Regions from separate parts of the Homo sapiens genome. Here region 2 is linked to region 1. Evidence: promoter capture Hi-C in human tissues and cell types (Jung and others, 2019). All regions are on one chromosome and are shown on one strand. Each heading gives the region's core, a stretch centred on a gene start or on the middle of the fragment in contact. The rest is flanking DNA. Distances are from core to core; before and after follow the strand shown.

Evidence for each region. The method cuts DNA at HindIII sites, captures the fragments that hold promoters and counts their contacts. A contact is called where the count stands out against the background at its distance.
Region 2: a contact is called between a fragment that was not itself captured here and the fragment with the promoter of ZNF287 in region 1, in 1 of the 25 tissues and cell types used here (lymphoblastoid cells).

The regions. Positions count from the first base shown.
Region 1 is chr17:16,565,775-16,572,948 of GRCh38, forward strand. It overlaps ZNF287 (zinc finger protein 287), which reads right to left and starts at 3,430. Exons shown (of 6, transcript NM_020653.4): 1 at 3,178-3,430; 2 at 1,555-2,155; 3 at 751-848. The coding sequence starts at 1,957. RefSeq lists enhancers at 2,493-2,994, 2,995-3,494. The HindIII fragment of the contact is 5,740 bases long and covers 1,050-6,789 here.
Region 2 is chr17:16,081,368-16,088,081 of GRCh38, forward strand. NCOR1 (nuclear receptor corepressor 1) reads right to left here. Exons shown (of 46, transcript NM_006311.4): 23 at 4,915-5,075. It also overlaps the pseudogene RPL22P21. Among named protein-coding and RNA genes, the nearest start is that of SNORD163, 68 kb to the right of the region's middle. The HindIII fragment of the contact is 4,077 bases long and covers 898-4,974 here.

The DNA of each region.
Region 1 (7,174 bases), core at 2,180-4,679:
TCAGGAGTTCAAGACCAGCATGAGCAACATGGCGAAACCCTGTCTCTACTAAAAATACAAAAATTAGCCAGGCATGGTGGCATGCACCTGTAACCCCAGCTACTCCAGAGGCTGTGGCATGAGAATCACTTGAACCCAGGAGGTGGAGGCTGCCGTGGACCAAGATCGCACCACTGCACTCCAGCCTGGGCAACAGAGTGCGACTCTGTCTCAAAAAATATATATAAATTCATGACCAACAGTAATATGACAGAATGCATGGCCTTTAACTACTTGTTAATGAGGAAAAATAATAGTAACAATCATCTATTAATTGCTTAACTGTAATCCAGGCTAACTACAAGTCTCATAATATTTAATACTCACAACCTAAGAGGTAAATTCTATTTATGAGAGTAGAATAACTCAGGCTAAGAGAGGTTAAGTATCTTGTCCCAAATTGCAGTTCCAATGGTAGAGCCGGGAAACAAAACCTAAATCCATCTGGCTGTGGAGGTCAATCTCGTATTCTCTATGTGATATTGCTGACAAAGTCAAAGTAAGGAAAGACATATCAAGGGAAGGCAATGGAAGCACCTTTTCTTTATAGTACATTCACCTACCTTAACAGACCAAGATAACATAGGAGAGAAACTGGGGCTTAAGTCCTTGATAGAGCTTCTGGGGGCACAGTAGTTATAGGGCCAGGTCAGAAAATGTCCTCACACACTAAGAAGGCATTTTAAAATCAGAAAAGACAGTCACACTCACTTTGGTCACCAAGTCATTTAGCCATCCTGTCTGGAAAGCATGTTTTCCTCTGGGGTCTTCCTCTGGGGTATCTTGGGAAAGGGTAGAGTTTTGAGGAGCTAGAGAAGAGAAAGAGGTCATGAGGGAGATTAGTCCTTTCTGAATAGCCTAGGAAACCCCTCACCAAATAGATGCCTACACTTTCTTAAATCGAGAAGTAAGAAGGAAATCAAAAACAGCACTCCTACTTCAAAGCATCAGAGGAAAGGGCCAATGACTTGTCCTAAGACATCAAAACAGACTTCAAAAACAAGCTCGCTCTAAAAATCTTAAAGAGTATGAACAAAATTCACATTTTAACTAAATCCTTATGTGATATTAATTTTGTGAGTTATCTCTTAATAAGGGAATGTTCTCTAGACCCTTTCTTCCTTTTTTGGAAGTATTTTATTGTAAAATTCAATTCACAAAGCAAATGATTTATTAGTAGAATGGTGCAAACCTCTGAAGGTACTTTCTGAGGGCTCACACAGTGGTAATTTGGTTGCGTCTGGTCATTATTTCAAGACGTTTTTCTTGGGGGTTTAGATAATGTGTGTTTGCTCCCAAGCAATCTGGAAGGAGAACACCATGCAGGATGGAGCTCATGTTAAAGCCTTGTTCTCACTCACTAACCTTTGTTCTCCCCAGTTTCTTTCTTTTTAAAAAATGCATCCTGGACCTCTCAGTGCTCTCCCTGATTTCTTTAAAGGAGCTGCTCAGATGTGCTAGTTGTCTTCTTTAACCACCCAGGGATTCCTCCCCTCTCTGCTCTATGATTCTCACCTTCCTCTTCTAGAATCTGAGTCAAATCCTCCACCAGAGTCACTGCTTCCTCGCTGCTCTCTGGATACTGGGACTTTACCCAAGTCCTAACCTCACCAGGCAGGATGGTCAGGAATTGCTCCAGCACCAGCAGCTCCAAAATTTGTTCCTTTGAGTGAATCTCAGGTCTCAGCCACTTAAGGCAGAGCTCTCGGAGTTGACTCAATGCCTTTCGAGGACCAGCCAGGTCTGGGTATGGAAAATTCCTAAAATTCTGTCGACAGGTCTCAGTGTCACGCAAGAATCTTGAAGTAAGGATTTCCTTCTCAACATTGTAGGGTCCACTCTGAGCCTTGTCTGACTTCCACCTTAGAAGGATTTGAGAACGTGAAGAACTGTTCATCCTCTTGCTTGAGGCTAACATTGCTACAGACAGGAGAGTCAATCTGGCAATATCCTTTATTTCTCCAGTAGTGAGCCAACTGCTTGAAGTCTCATGCTAGAGTCACAAGGACACTATATCAAAGGCTGCTGCAGCCGAGGGCAGAACAGAATCAAGGTAGAGTTAGCAGCCTTAGTGACAAATTCTGAGCCCAGAACTTGCAGGGATGGATAAGAGACCCTGAAACACAAGCATGGACCACAAGGTCAAGAATCCCTGGTGTACTCTACTATACATATACACACACAGAAACAGACTCGCAGTGTGCATAGATGAACACACATAAGCTTTACCTTGTCTTCCTCCCCTATATCCTTAGACTTGTAAGGGAACTGCCATCTGCTTGGGGTTGGTGGGGGATGGAGCTGCTATTAAAAAGGTAGTGTCAGAGGCAATGACTCGAATCTAAGCCAAACAACAGATTAAACCTCTAACCTGTTGTAACAAAAATTAAACATTTTTATAGAGAAAATAGTTTCATTATTTTAGTCACTGATGTTACAGAAGCTGTAATGACTGAACGGACTCTCAACAATAACAAAGTGAATCTGTTACTTGGAAGAAACTAGGAGAATTTCTTCTTAATACAGTGCTCAAGGTTCCCAAGGGAACTGTCAGGGGAAAGGGCGAGCCATTTATCTGCGTTGCATGTTAATGCCAGCCGATTCTAGCCTTTCACTATCAGAGGGTTGGGAAGACCAGCGGGTTGGACTGGAAAAGAGTGAAGAGGTTGGTGTGACTTCAAGTCCTTTAAGTGCTTCTATAGGAGACAGTTCTTTAGGGATATATTCGAAACCAGGATTCTCGAAGGAAACCTTAGAACCGGCCTGATCTGGAGGAGAACCGACACCACCTCTCCCCAGGCTCCAGCTCCGAGCCCTGCTGAGGCACAGTCGTGCCACCAAAGACAACTGTTTACAAGGCCCTGCGGAGGTGATGCGACAGCCTTGCCTTGCCTCCTGTCGCCTCCCCTTCCCGGCCAAGTCCCTCTGCCTCTTACTCCTCTTCAGCCGCAGGGTCGAGGTCGAGGGCAGCGGGGGAGTCGGGGACCGTGCGACGCGCAACGCTGGGACTGGGCCCACAGCAGCCTCCACCCCGTCTTTGCCCTCCCGCAAGCCACGAGCACGGGAGCCCGCGCGTGGACGGGCTCGGGCTGTCACTGATCGCGCGGACACTCGCGCGCTGCGCCCGGACATCAATACCTGTCGCTGGGACCCGGCCGACGGGCAGCCGGAGCGGCCCTAAGGCCACAGGCAACAATGGCGACGCTGGCACAGGCGCCTGCGTGGCGGGCTCAGTCCCGAGCGGCAGCGGATCCTCGGGCTCCGCCACTTCCCTTCCCCGCAAAGCACAGAGTGTCCCGGCCAGGAGCTGCACGTTCCAGCCCGGTCCTGAGAAGCCCGGCCCAGAAACCCCGGCGCCTCTGCTTAGCCGCGACCTCGCCTCGGCGTCACTGCGCATGTGCGCCAGAGGAACGCTGCGCGCCCGCAGAGCCAATCGGAGCCCAAGCTGCCGCCTCCCCCTCCCGCGCCTCTGGCCCTGGACCTGTCTCCATGGCAACCTCCTCCACCCATCGCTCTGACTTGCTTGTCAGCCTGCGAGGTTCCGAAGGGAACTTCAAAGTTTCCCCGGGCAGACGCAGGTCTGGTAGACGTCTTGGAGGCCAGGGAGGTGCCAGTAGCTGGAGGAGCGCCGGGAGTTGAAGCCCCGCGCCAACTACGCAGAGAAAACTGGGCGCCAGATTTCCTAGAGGAAGAATGGGCAGGGAAGATGTGGGTCTAAAGGCAGAAAGACTTAATGTGCGGTTTCGGGCTTTACTGTGCATACATACTAACTGTGAAAGGTTTTCACTTCCTCCTCAGGAATTTGATTCTGAGACTCTCAGATTGGGGGAAAAAAACCCATGTTCTTTCTTTCTTTCTTTTTTTTCTTTTGAGACGGAGTCTCGCTCTGTCGCCCAGGCTGGAGTGCAATGGTGCGAGCTCGGCTCACTGCAACCTCCGCCTCCTGGGTTCAAGTGATTCTCCTGTGTTCAAGTGATTCTCACTTGAACTTCCTGGGTTCAGCCTCCCGAGTAGCTGTTATTTCTAAGAGACACAAAACAAAAATACATAAAACACTGGAAAAATAAAAGCATAGAAAAACATATTCAAGGTGTTCCCGTTATCTACTGTTCTATTAACAAACCACCCCAAAACTTAGTGGTTTTGAAGGACAATCACCGTATTATGCTCATAAATTTCATGGTGAGGAATTTGAAAGGGGAACTGAGTGGGTGGGCCTTTGCCTCATTATGTCTGTAGCCTCTGTTGGGATGATTTGATGGCTGGGAGGGCCCGCTTCCAAGATGGCTTTTCCACTCACATGTCTACTGCTTGGGAGGAGATGGGCTAAAAGATGAACTCGGCTTGTGTTTGACCAGAGTGCCTCAATGTGGTCTCTCCAGCATAAAGGACTGAGGGCAGCTGGACTTGTTACATGGTGGCTCTGGGCTCCAAGAGTGAGCATTCCAGTGAACAAGAGAGAAGCGCCATGGCCAATTATAACATGGCCTTGGAAGTCACCTAACACCAATTCTGTCAGACTCTTGGTCAAAGCAATCACAAGCCTACAGAGAATCAAATGGAGGCAGAATCCTGTGAGGGTGGAGGAGGACTGTCAAAGACTCTTAATATCACCACACCAGGAAAATTTTAACAAAAAGAAAGTTGGACCGGGCGCGGTGGCTCACGCCTGTAATTCCAGCACTTTGGGAGGCCCAGGCAGGTAGATCACCTGAGGTCAGGAGTTTGAGACCAGCCTGGCCAACATGGTGAAACTCCGTCTCTACTAAAAGAACAAAAATTAGCCTGGTGTGGTGGCGCACGCCTGTAATCCCAGCTACTCAAGAGGCTGAGGCAGGAGAATCACTTGAACCTGGGAAGCGGAGGTTGCAATGAGCTGAGATTTTGCCACTGCACTCCATGTACTCCAGCCTGGGCGACACGAGCAAGACTCCATCTCAAAAAAAAAAAAAAACAAACTTGGGGAGTGTGATGGTCTTTTGATGTGTCAACTTGGCTAGGCTACAGTCTCTTGCTATTTAAGTAAACACGAATCTAGGTGTTGCTGTAAAGGCATTTTGTAGATGAGATTGAAGCCCATAAACCCAGTTGGACTAAGTAGCATGGGAGATTATCCTAGATAATTTGGGTGGGCCTGATTCAATCAGTTAAAAGCTTTCAAAAAAGAACCGAAGTTTCCCTGATGGAGAAGAAACTCCATCAGCGTACCACAGCTTCCAGCCTGCCCTTCCTGATGGGGTGCTCTTATGGACTTTGGACTCACCTGGTCACCCCCTCAATCGAGTAAGCCAACTCTTTGCCACAAGTATCTTAAATATCTACTGGTTCCGCTTTTTTGATTGAACCCTGACTGATACAAGTAATAATTCTAATATCTGATAAGCTAGAATTTGAGAAGATTAAAAGGGAATAAATAAGAGTGCTTGATGGAAAAGATATATTTATCATAAATATACAGCATGTCCCTAACACTAAGGCCTCAAAACATACAAAGCAATAGCTGACATACCTGTAGGGAGGAAAACATAAACCAACAACCAAAGCTGGAAACTTAATACGCCCTATAGTGCACACTGTGGTGCTGCCAGGATCCTCCTTCAGGGTTGAGGCATCCATCCCAGCAGCTGCCGGGTGAGTGGCTGCTGATGGCTCACAGCAAAATACTTCCTTGGGAGTTGTCCTAACTGCAGGGGGCTGCCTCTCACAAGTCACGTCTTCTCCCCGGGGGAAGTCCATATCCAAAGACTGCTCAGTGCAGGCCTCAAAGACCTGGCCCCCTGTCTTCAACTTGCAGCCTCTATAAAGGGCCATCTTGGCTTAAGAGTTCCCTGTGAGACCAACTGAGGCCTCTGTTGCAGTCATACAGCATTTAAACCTATTACTCTGTCCAGTTATCCTTATATCACTCCTGTACAGGCATTTTTTCTAGAGAACACTACCCAGTAATTACCTTGTATGCAATTCTCCATCTCAGAATCTATTTATAGGGAATCTGCCCTACACCAGTTGGTACCAGCAGTTGTTCCAAGAACGCAAACTCTAAAATGGAATTTTTTTCTTTTTGAGGTGGGGTCTTGCTCTGTCGCACAGGCTGGAGTGTAGTGGTGCAATCTCAGCTTACTGAAACCTTTGCCTCCCGGGTTCAGGCAATTCTCTCTGCCTCAGCCTCCTGAGTAGCTGGGATTACAGGCACCCACCACCACACCCGGCTAATTTTTGTATTTTTTAGTAGACACTGGGTTTCGCCATGTTGTCCAGGCTGGTCTTGAACTCCTGACCTCAGGTGATCTGCCTGCCTTGGCCTCCCAAAGTGCTGGGATTACAGGCATTAGCCATAAAATGGAATTTTGAAACTGTGTTACCTGCCACCTAGCTGACAATGAGGGAGGGCCCTATGACTTGTGATTGGCAGAGTAGTGATAATGATAGCATATGTCAGGTTGTAGCAAAGTAATTGTTAAAATTGTCAGTGGTGTTGAACTGGGGTGGAATGTTGACAGAAGGGAACGCACTGGTGGGTGCTATATCTCAGATCTTTATAACACTGGGGGAAGTGGTAATTCTAGAGATGATGGAATTGAATGGCTATTACCAGGAGCTATTGACAATGACGGTGATTAGTGACAAATTAATTGAAAATGTGAGCGTCAGAAGACTTCTTTGAAGCCTGACAGCAAAACAGCTGAGAATCAGGCCCTAACTTCAGCTAAGTTTGAATTCTAAATCCCAGCAAGTTTGCTATGCCAAGGTCAGGATCCTGCTGGGAAGGAGTAGAACTCTGAGATTTGGGATGGGGACATTTTGATTTGTGCATGCAAACACCTTCAAACACCAATCACTCTGAATTTCTCAGGCTTGCTAAAGTGGCCCACTCCTCCAAGTCTAAAGCTAGGGCTCTGCCTTGCTTGAAGATGATGCAGACTGAGGCCTCTACATTGCAATACAACCCGTGCCCCCTCAGGATCTACCTACCCTTTCCTCTCCCTACCCCATCCACTAGACCAATAACTAGAATTAAGTCACCAAAAAAACCCAACAGGGGAAATTCTGGGCATGATAAGAGAGGAAAAGAACCATCCTCTGAAGTTACTACAGGCCCTAGTTTATATGTATCTGTAGGAACCAGGACAGTATG
Region 2 (6,714 bases), core at 1,686-4,185, 480 kb before region 1:
TGGAAATATTTATTTAAAAAAAAAAAAAAAAGCTGAATCTAGGTAAAAACAGGTAAAAACAATGGGCTTTGTGGCATTTTAACTTGTTCCATTCTCATTCTCCTGATCAAACTCTATGGAAGTGTTGAAAACCAAAAGCACTCAATCATAGTGCAAACCTATGGTGGCTGCCTGGCAGCCACTAGAAGGGAAAGAGCAAGGATGGAGCTCCTTAAAAGCCTCATTCCCAGATAACTGTCATTGTTTGACTTCTCTGTTGGTTCTCTGGGAGACTCCATTCACAAAGCTGTCTTTATTTGACCTGACTGGAGTGGGAGAGGAGGTGCAGACTTGTCAAAAACAATCAGAGGCAACTGATTAACTTCTCCACTGCCTGAGACAGTAGATAACAGCCAGGGTAAACAACAGGCTAACCAAAACACTTAAAAGGAAAAGCCAGGGAATGAGATGTTCATGGGGTCTGAAAAACTCCAACATATTCCCTAGAACCTAGAATGCTACATGCATGTGCAAGGCTATGAATATGCCTAGGAAAGACATGGGAAGGCCCCACTGCTCTCAACTTAGGCTGCCCTTAAGGCTCTGCACGCCAGGAAGTAAAGACTAAGGCAAAGCTGTTAAGTGCCCAACACATAAAGAGCACCCCTCAGCAAAGGCTGATTTTACTGATTTTAGACATTTAAGGAAATGTCTGTCTAATCATTAGCTGATCACTAAGTTAATCAGACTTCAGTGGCTACACACAACAAATAATACAGACTTTACAGAATTAGTTAAGAAAAGTCACTAAGCAAATAATAACAGCCAAAAGAAACAACAAGCTCTGAAAAGAAAAGTGGGGGTGGGGGGGATCCAAGTTCCAGAGTTGCTACATTATACAAAATGTCCAGTTTTTGACCAAAAATTATAAGATACGCAAAGAAACATGAAAGTGTGAGCCATACATATGAAACAGAGCAGGGAACAGAAAATATTCCTGAGCTTTGGGCTCAGGAATAAAGACTTTAAATCAGCTATTATAAATGTATTCCAAGAACTAAAATAAACCATGTCTAAATTAAAGGAGGCCAGGTGCAGTGGCCTGCCTTCTTTAATCCTTACACTTTGGGAAACCCAGGCAGGAGGATCGCTTGAGGCCAAGAGTCTGAGACCAGCCTTAACAAGATATTAAGACTCTGTCTCTATAAAAAATAAAAAAAAAATTAAAAGCCAGGCATAGTGATGCATGCCTGTAGTTCCAGCTACTCAGGATGCTGAGGCAGGATTGACTGAGCCCAGGAGACTGATGCTACAGTGAGCTAAGATCATGCCACTGCACTCCAGCCTGAGCAACAGAATTGTTTTAGGAGAGAGAAAAAGAAAAAAAAAAAGAAGAAAGTACAAGAATGATACTTCACCAGATAGAGAACACCAACAAAGAGAAAGAAATCATTAAAAAGAACAAAATAGAAATTCTGGAGCTAAAAAAATATAAGAACTAGGGGTGGGGGTGGGTCTCAGCAAACTAAGAACGGAAGGAAACATCTTCAATCTGATGAAAGACATCCATGAAAAACTTAACATTCTGCCTAACAGTAAAATACTGAATGCCTTCCTTCTAAGATGAGCAACAAGAAATTCATGTCCATGTTCACCAATTCACTATTCAGTATTCCTGTATCAAGACCATCCTGGCCAACATGGTGAAACCCCGTCTCTACTAAAAATACAAAAAGATTAGCCAGACAGGGTGGCGTGCACCTGTAGTCCCAGCTACTTGGGAGGCTGAGGCTGGAGAATTGTTTGAAACTGGGAGGCGGAGGTTGCAGTGAGCCGAGATCGTGTCACTGCACTCCAGCCTGGGCAACAGAGCAAGACTCTGTCTCAAAAAAAGGAAAAAAAAAAAAATTCCTAGCCACTCGGAAGGCTGAGGTGGGAGGACTGCTTGAGCCCAGGAGTTGGAGGCTACAGTGAGCTATGATCACACTACTGCAAAGCAAGACTTTGTCCAAAAAAAAAAAACAAAAACAAAATTTAAAGGAATCAAATAGCCAAATATAAATCAAACAAAACACATACAAATCTCTAAAGTGAAAACTTTAAAGCGCTGCTGAGAGATATAGATATACAAGTTCATAGATTAGAAGATTCGATGTAAGATTTCCATTTCTACCTCAAATTGATCTATAGATTTAATACAATCCCAACAAAAATCCCAGCAGATGGGTGGTTCATGGTTTTTTTTTTTTTTTGGTCTTTTAAACCTTAAACTATAATTTGAAGCATTCTCAGATGTTTGGGGGGAAACATCCTCGTAAAATAGTTCCCTATGCTCGCCTTCTGGGGAGGCAGTGCTGAGCAGGTGAATCGTAAAGCATTTATGCATATGTTAAATGCTCACTGCACCCACCTCTTCCCCACAACCTTTGCCTCTTGGGTGGTTTGTGCTACTTTCCCCTTACTTTGCTACATTTCTACAGTTAAGTTGGTTTTACTTAAATGATTCATGTTTGGGGGGGGAAATAAACATCACCCTTAAAACATGTTTCAACTCCTGCAAATAAAATAAATGAAGTGGCGAAAGAAAAGAAAAAAAAAGAGAAGAGAAGAGATCCCAGCAGAATTTTTTTTCTTTAAGTAGACTGACAAACAGATTGTTTCTGCCTCTGCTGCTGCCAGGTGCCCATGAAAAAGTGGGGGCAAAAAAAGAAAAAAAGCAGGTTCTGAAGTATACCCTTGACTGGATCTACCCCGCAGATGATGCTGCCAATTGTGAGCAGTTTCTCCAAGACAGAATTAAAGTGAATGGAAAAGCTGGGAATCTTGGTGGAGGGGTAGTAACTATTGAAAGGAGCAAGAACACAAGCACCGTAACTTCTGAGGTGCCTTTTTCCAAAGGGTATTTGAAATAGCTCATCAAAAAATATCTGAAGAATAAGCTATGTGATTGGTCGTGCGTAGCTGCTAATAGCAAAGAGAATTTCGGATTGTGTTACTTCCAAATTAACCAGGACAAAGAGAAGGAAGATGAGGATTATAACTCATTTACCTGGAATGTTTTGTATGAGTTCTTGAATAAAACTTGGGAACCAAAAAAAGGGGGGAGACAGACATTGATAAGCTGATTATATAATTTATATGAAAATGCAAAAGACATCAAATAGTCAAAACAATCTTGAAAAACAAAAACACTGAAGACTTATACTACATGATTTCAGGACTTACAATAAAGCTACAGTAATCAAGACTGTGGTACTGACAAAACGATGAACAAGTAGATCAGTGGAACAGCATGGAGACAGTGCAGAAACAGACCCATATATACTGTCAAATGATTTCTAACAAAGGAACTGAAGCGATCAAATGAGTAAAAGACGTTTCAACTGGTGCTATTTTTCAACTAGAAATTTAAATAAAGATGAATGTTAATCCTGACCTCATACTATACACAAAAATTAATTTGAGACTGGTCACATGCCTCAATATAAAAGCCAAAATTATAAAGCTTTCAGAAGAAAACACAGGCGAATATCTCACAACCTTGGAGCAGGCCAAGATTTCTTAGCAAAATAAAACTAATCATAGGAGAAAAAAGTGTGTATATATATTTAGACTATATAAAAATTTGAAACTTCTCATCAAAATACCAGTAAGAAAATAAACAGACAAAAAACAGAGAAAATATTTGTAATACATATATCTAACAGAGAACTTTCAACCATAATAAAGATCTACAACACAGTATCAAAAAGACCCAGTAGAAACAGATAATCAGACTTAAATAGTCACTTCATAGGTGTACAAATGGCCAATAAGCACATGAAAAGTGCCCAACATTGTTTGTTTTCAGGGAAATGTAAAATACAACCACAATAAGATATTACTACACACCAAGTATGACTAAAATGACCAAGACTTGACAACAGCAAATGGAGCAATCACGTCTCATACATTGCTAGTGGCAGCATAAAATTGTAGAACCATTCTGGAAAAGTATAAAACATACACAAACCTAGTAATTCCACTCCCAGGTAATTGTACAAGAAAAATAAAAACATATGTCCACAAAGAACCCATTACAAGAATGACCAGCTTTATTCATAGCTGCCAAAAACTGGAAATAGCTCAGGTTTTCATCAACAGGAGAATGGATAAACAAACTGGTATTACTCAGCAATAAAAAGGAAGAAACTACTGATTACATAAAACCCTGGATGAATTCCCTAAAACCATTATGCTGGGTTAAAGAAGACAGACACAAAAGAGTACACCATGTTTGATTCCATTCACAGGAAGTTCTAGAAAAGGCAAAACTAATCTACAACAACAGGAAATCAAATAGTGGTTGCTTCAGGCAGTGGAAGGGGAGATGGCCTGGGAAGGAACATGAGAAAACTTTCTGAAGTGATGGAAGTGTTCAATAAGTTGACAGGGGTGTGACCACTGATGTACAGTTAGTCAAAACTGATGGAACTGTGAAGACCAGACCATATCTCAATTTTTTAAAAAGTAATGAACCAGAAAAAAGATTTAGTGGCCAAAGTCAGAATAAATTATAATACTAACCACCTACAATTTAATATTTTGAGCCTTTACCATATGTTAGTGAACAAATATTCTACTGTTTGAAACTAAGTTTAAAACTTGGTAAGTTTAGAGTGATGTAAATTAAACCAAGTGGTATGCCAAGTGCCAAGTGTAATTAAATGGGTGGTATGTTATGACCACTCAATCTGGGTACATAACTCACTGAAAGTTCTGATTTGTGGCAAGAGTACAGTGACTGCTGCATCTTCTGGTCATTATCTCTTGAAACTTCATATTCAGACAGATTATTATTTATTACAACTCTGACAAATCAGTGCGAGGAGGGAGGACAAGTTTTAACAAAGCCATATTCAACAAGAAATCTACTGTAAAGAGAAGTCGTTTCACCTGTGAGATGGAGCCTCCCATTATAAAAGATGGTTTTTCTGAAGCCACTGTGGTTTTGGATGACGGGATGAGAGGGGGCGGTGGCCTGGTTGGTCGAGTTGTCGGAAGCCGAACGCCTTCAGGGAGATTAGTTATCACTTGATGTGGAGCAGGCTGAAGGACTTTTAAAAGGAAAGAAAAATGATTTTAAACTAGTCCATTTCCTAGTTTACAACATGTTACCTCTCTCAGTCATTCCTGAATTTTTAAATCACTAATTAAAAAATGTAAGATGAAACCAACAATGAACATTTCTATTTTAAATTTCTCATTCACGTAAGCCTGTATACATATTTGTCACAAATACTATTTGTGGGGTTGAAATATTCAACTCCCTTTCAAACCACAGCTTTCAAGCTGATGCTTATTTCAAACTTCTGCTTAGCATAGCAAACATCAGTCTTCAAAAATTTTTTCTCTCTCGCCAATCACTCTTAGGGTACTTCTTAAAAACAGCTGATAACACTACTTCAGAGAATGCGCAGACATGACTGACAACCAGTTATACATCCTTTTTGCATCTTGCATATTGAGAAACACTTACTGATTCTGGCTCTCACAGAACACTTGAATTTTGGGGATGGGGAGATCTCAAGACTTTTACAAATTCATGTACTCTTCTTAAAGGAAGAGCCAGTCAATGTCACAGTATAAATGTGTGAACACAAATTTCCCAGTGGCCCAGTGAACTCAACTAAATACAACTGATGATGGAACGCAGAGAAACAAAGTCATTCTGAAACAGCAAGGACACGTCCTGGAAGAGCAGTTCATTCACGAGATTAAACCACCCACGTGGAACATCTGTGGGTGGATGGCCAGCAGCCACTGCACAGAGGAGTGATATTTACCTGGCGGGACACTATAGCGGGCTGCACTCATATCAGGCTGTGGAGCGGCTTTACTGACTTCTCTTGGAGAAAGCCTACACGGTGAGGCTGACCTTGCTGCAGTATTGTGCATCTGTGCTTCCTGTTCTAGAGCACGTTTGACCTCAGCATAAGGCATATAGGCGACTGATTTTCCTATGAAAGTTAAAGTTATCAAAATAAGGGAAGAACCCCAAATTAAAATAGTAAGTGTGAAAGGACCAAGCCCACACCATCCAGGGGCTGATCCGACTATAACATTAAAGTCTAAAACTCCTGGGGGCAAAATTCACCCACAGAGAAGTTAAGAAATCCTGTAAATCTAAATCTCCTGTGTATCCTCAAAAATTCATTTACGAGTTTTCCCTTTAAAGGAAAAAGAACTTCTCTTTCCTCTTAAGGAGAATCAAGTGTTTTCACATGCAATAAAATCACAACAGGCAAACATCAGATTATCAAGCAATTCTGTTAATTCAAATCTGGCCTGACTGGAGGTTATTAGCTTTGCGAGGATTTCACAAGTCTTATAATTAGCCTGTTGAAGCTCACTCCTTGCTAATATTCACAGAAATATATTTAATTAAGAAATGGAAGAAGCCTTTCAAAAGATGCAGATCAAACTAATTCAAAAATCCTACATAAGCTTATAAAAACCATGAATATAACTACAATAATACTAATGAAAATTACTTCTCATGTAAGTTATCTCCACATAAAGCATAAAGAAACTTTAAATATTTTAAAGGGCACGCCAGAAATGCAGTCATATTTAAGACTTTAAAATATATAGTTTCTTTTTAAAATGAAACATCTGTAATTTTTGAAAATCAAAAAAGCACAAAGTAAAACTCATTTGTAACCCTGACCACTTAGATTTGTAGCATTTTAATGT